Regions from separate parts of the Homo sapiens genome. Here region 1 is linked to region 2. The links are contacts of gene promoters, found by promoter capture Hi-C in blood cells and fetal thymus (Javierre and others, 2016). All regions are on one chromosome and are shown on one strand. The core of a region is centred on a gene start or on the middle of the fragment in contact, and the rest is flanking DNA. Distances in the headings are between cores, read along the strand shown. Region 1 has its middle 53 kb from the start of LINC02458. Region 2 holds the start of KERA (keratocan).

What was found. Contacts are between HindIII fragments. The CHiCAGO score rates a contact against its expected background, and 5 or more counts as called.
Region 1: a fragment that was not itself captured here is called in contact with the fragment with the promoter of KERA in region 2 in 1 of 17 cell types (total B cells); the score reaches 6.4 in total B cells.

What each region holds. Positions count from the first base shown.
Region 1 is chr12:88,965,234-88,967,933 of GRCh38, reverse strand. No RefSeq gene overlaps it. Among named protein-coding and RNA genes, the nearest start is that of LINC02458, 53 kb to the left of the region's middle. The HindIII fragment of the contact is 1,304 bases long and covers 737-2,040 here.
Region 2 is chr12:91,056,668-91,059,367 of GRCh38, reverse strand. KERA (keratocan) reads left to right here and starts at 1,344. Exons shown (of 3, transcript NM_007035.4): 1 at 1,344-1,624. The HindIII fragment of the contact is 7,392 bases long and covers 1-2,700 here.

The DNA.
Region 1 (2,700 bases), core at 139-2,638, 2.1 Mb after region 2:
CTTGTGGAATACAATTAATGCAGTACTCAGATAAAATGTTATGATATGGTTTGGCTCTGTGTCCACCCCCTAAATCTCACGTCGAATTGTAATCCCCACATGTGAAGGGAGAGACCTGGTGGGAGGTGACTGGATCATGGGGGTGGTCTCCCTCATGTTGTTCTTGTGATAGTGAGTTCTCACGAGATCTAACTGTTTAAAAGTGGTACTTTTCCCTTAGCTTTCTGTCTCTCCTGCTGCCATGTGAGACATGTCTTGCTTCCCCTTCATCTTCTGCCATGATTGTAAGTTCCATGAGGCCTCCCAGCCATGCTGAACTGCGAGTCAATTAAATCTCTTTTCTTTATAAATCACCCAGTCTCAAGCAGTTCCTTATAGCAGTGTGAAAATGGACTAATTTGTAGTCCTGTTGTAACTCTAATTTCTTTTATTAGGAAAAAAGATGTGAAAATTAATGAACTAAGCATCTCTTTCAGTCGGTTTTGCTACAGTAACATACCACCATGAATCTCAGTGTGTTACACTGACAAAAATGTATTTCCTTTTCACATTACATGTAGATGTGAGTCAGATACTGCTCTGCCCCAGTGTTGTTCTTCCCTGCAGCTTGCTTCATGTGTTTTATCATTCCAAGACCCAGGTTGAAGGAACTACTGTGGAGACCAATCTATTCTTGTTCCTAATGGTAGGGTGAAGAACAAGATAGGTGTTGGAAAGTCATTTGTACCTTAAAGCTTCTCCCCAGAACTGGAACATTGTCTAGTCTATGCCCAATATCAAGGTCTATGGATTGAGGTGTTTTCCAAGGAAATATACTACTATCTGCTATCTTAATAAAAAAATAAGTTTCTTTGTTTCTACAATCAAAATATATTAACTCCCTCCCCTAATGAAGAAATCCTAATATCAGATTCAAGGTCAATACCTAGGGTCTCATGATAGTGTCTCCATTGAGTGAAGATCTAGAGATCTAACACATAAAAAGGCACTGCCCTCAAATACAGGATCATGGGACAGTGAACAATTACTGCAAAAACTACTCCCATTGGAAAGAGGATAAGAAATGTTATGTGATTAGGCCTTTATTTTGCCCAGTCTATATTCCATGGTGCCAAGCACTTCTCTCCAGAAGAGTTATTTTCTATTTTCCTCCTTGGCCATATCTCAAAAGGGTATTGAATAATATGCATCTTTGGGGGCTGAGCAGCTTGTTAAGCCTGCTCCTTTCTCCTAGAAAGCTGGAAGCCCAAAAGTTGTTTTATATTTTAACAGTTACAGTCTATTTTAATCCAGGCTATTGGAACTTTTGGCATTATAACTCTCTGAAAAACATGATTGTTTTTTCAATGAATTGATTTTAATCAGCAACATATTCAAATAGCTACACCTCTGTTATTTGGAAATGTGCCTTTCTCTCCAGACTTACTTATAAATAATGTGAGCTACCCAGCTTCAAGGAAACTGTTGGCATCTCTTTCTTCTAAGTCATTTTGTCCAACTGGCATAATTTTCTAGTAGTCATCTTAAACCATTCATAGTTTTTAACAAAGGATATGAATGGCAATGTCCTTTATTTGGACATGTGTTTTAATCTGAGATTTTGTTGCTCAAAGCATTTATTTTCTACTAATTAAAAAAATTATGTTTTCCTATCCGTCAGTCCCTAGAATCTGGTTACTCTAATTTCTGCTTCTTCCCTGCTTGCAAAGCAACCTATTCTTCTCTGAGCTCTTATGGCAATTCAGAGGAAAAGGTAACATTAGTAATATTCTGTTGTGAAACTCCTTCCAAAGCCACTCTTTAATAGGTAGATCTATTATCTGTTTTCTGAGTTATTAAAGGTGACAGTTTGCTAAATATTTTGCCATTGCATATCATGGGTCATCATCGTTCCAGCCTCTGAAAATAGTATCTTTACAACTTGTCTCTTGGCCTCAAAGTCAAGACACAGATTTTCAATTGTTATAGGAGTACCTATCTTTGAGATACTAAGATTTGTTTTAATCAACTTTGCTATAGTAAGAAATGGGCTCAAAAGCTTAGCACTTATACCAACAAAAAATAATTTCTTGTTCATGTTACACTGAATCTTGGCTCAGCTATAGCTCTGCTAGATGTTTAAGTAGGGTGGGTTTTGCTCTAATGTCTTCCCAGTCCATGATCCAAGCTGCAAGTCCAGCTTTTGTGCTAGGAATTCACAATATCTCCTAAGAGTTGTGCTCAGAATTGGTAGTTAAAGAACCGACATCTTGTTCCTTCTGCTTACATTCCATTATCCCAAACAAGTTCTAGAGGTCAGACCAAAATTAGTGGGCAGAGAAGTAGAGCCCTTTCCATAAAGAAGGATGAGATAATCATATCTTTATAAAGAAGGATAAAATGATCACACATGCTCCCATTTTATACAATTTGAAAGAGAATAACAGAATAAACCACCCCTTAAAAATGAAGAGTCATTAACAAACAACAGAAATAAATTTAATTGAAAACAAACATATCAAAAATTAACCAAATGCAATCTTTTTAAAGAGAACTAATAAAAGTGAGAAGCCTCTGGCAAGGTTGGCCAAGTAAAATGAGAGAAGGCAAAATAAACAATGTTAAGAGTGGAAAAGGGGCTACAACCAAAGATGTGGCCAAGATTACAAAGATATAAGAAAATCAGATCAACAGTTTGACTGGAAAATTTAGAAAACATGG
Region 2 (2,700 bases), core at 95-2,594:
GACAATAGCTGGAAGAGGGCCATGCAGATTTGAAGATCATCTGTTGTTTAAATCCTGAGGGTTTAGGAAAAGGAGAGGGAGAAATGCAACAGAGAGAGGAGACAATTGTTGTGAGAAAGCAAGTAACACTTGGTTGTCTTCTTAAAATGTGATGTGAGTACACCTACATACCTATAGGACTAGTAAAAAATCATGTCAAAATAGGATCTCAATCTATAAAAACCCTTTAATATAAATGCATTTTCCAGTTGAGAGTGTAGGGCTAATTCCAAATAAGGCTATTATTTCTGTAATTGTTTATAACAAACTAGACCTAACTCTGTGAAGCAATCCATTACTATTTTGTAGATGACAAAACTGAACTTTAATTTACCCTCCTATGGTTAGGAGAGAGGAAAGAGGTGGTTCACAAAAGGTCCTCTGAATCCAATGCTTAATCCTCTTCACGGTGCTCTTTGACAATACTCATGTGAGCTGTTAAATGAGTCATATAACATTCACTGAAGCTAGAATAAGAGAGATTTTGAAAAACAAAACAACAATCAATCCACATAATAACACCTAAATGAAATATTTTTTGTTTGCATCTTTTCTCAAGAAGCATAATTTTTTTTCATCAAGTATCAGAAGTGGAGGACACACTACTTTAGATATGTGTTAAAGAAAAAAGTAGCAGTGTAACAGAATGTCTCATAAGGGACTATATGCAAAACATGTGTTATATTATAATGAATAAAAAATTATCCCACCTTAGCAGGTACTTGGAATAAATTGTTAAAAGAAATATAATAGGAAATAGGGATACAAAAATTATTTCTCTGAAAAAAAGCATAATACCAAGATTAGCACCAAAATCAGGTAGTGCTTTCCAGATATCACATTTACATTTTTTCAAATACATATATTTATTTATTTTTCCCTTAGTCAAACACATTACAGCATCTATTTTATATCAGGAACAGATAAAATATGTCCATATAAACAGAAGACATTGGCTTTTAATTATTTGTATTCAATTTTTAAGAAATGATCATCTAGGGAAAATGTTTTAAAATCTTTTAAAATATCTTTTTGTTATACTTTAAAACTGCCTTCAGCTGCCTATTGGTAAATAAGGTCTGGATATCAGTACATGACAACATATACTAATGAATTGAACTGTGAATTAGGAATGAAAATTGCCTAGAAATTTTTTTATGAGTTATTAGGATTAAAGTAAGAATTTCCTTTGCTGGGCTGTGTAGGCACTAAGATTCCGTGGTTGTTGGAGGGGTTAAATTTGGATCTACTAGTGCATATATTTTACCGAGGATTCATAAAAACACGACAGTGGAGCCTGGGTCAATCCATTACCATGTACAAGCAGTGACCAATAGAAAAGGAAGAAGAAGATCCAAGAAGGCTGAGGTAAGCAGTCTTCTGAAGCCCTGTCAAAGTGGAAACAATAGATCAAAGGTGTTCATGGTGACTGGGACGAGTAGGTTTCACTGTTTCTCATAGACGACTTGACAGCTTAAAGTAAAAACAAATTATTTTCGTCAAAGTTTTTTTTTTTCTCTTAACTGATTTTTAGCAAACCTCAGACTGAGACACAGGACTCAACGGTGTATTCCTGGAAGGCAAGGTAAACTATTTTGCACTTTTAAAAACTCTTAAAGTTAAGCATGCAAAGTACTTATTCAACAGACGCAGGGTTACAACTTCAATAACTAAACCAAAACCCTATTCTGAAAAAGAAAAAAAAAAATGATGTTTCTTTGTTGGAACATGGCCAGAGCAGCGTTCTGCAATCCTAGAAAATTTGACAGCTTGCAGAAGCAGTTCTGCACTTGTTTTCTGCAATTTAATGGCAAAATTGAATGATCAGCATTTCATAAATGAAGTTGACTTTATCTTTTCCTAAGGAATCAGTAAAATTTATTTCATCCTATTATCAATCAGTTCAATAAATGTACATTGGTCAGAATGTTACTGATATATATATATATATATAAATATATATGTAACATATGTATGCTATAAATTATTAAAATATATATGTATATTTCCTGTTAAAATAATTATTTGTACCAATAATCTTTGATGATCAGTGGGGAGGGTTTATGTGTTTTAAATGTATCAAATATTAGTAAACGCTAACCTACTTTCCATTATCCACACTGATAATATGAATATAAAGAAATTCTCCACCCGTATCCTAAATATGTTTTTGGTTGTTTTTGTTTCTTATCAACCATAATAATGGCATAGTTGAATACAATACTCATGTACTTGTGCTATACATCACAATGTATTCAACTCTATATAATAAACTCTATCTCTATATATACATATATATACATATATAGAGACAGAATATACATATTCTCTGAGAGAGAGAGAGAGAGAGAAAGGGAGAGAGAGAGAGAATTGATAATTCAATAGCTTGGCTGAACAACTTAATTGTGTGCTTAAAATTATAGACATCTTCCCCCACCCTCAAAAAACTTACTTGAGAGGTTGAGCTAGAGAATAACAGATTAATTACATTTTTATTCAGATCCTAGAACCTTCCTTCACCATAAAGTGCTAAAATGTTCTTTGATCCCTTCATTCCTTTGGTTCAAGGGCCAAAAGGCCTAGGAAATCTCATCCAGATGTTCTGCTCATTTAAGAGTAAAAGTAAAAGCATATGCTTTCCTCTCAGGAACAACACAGATT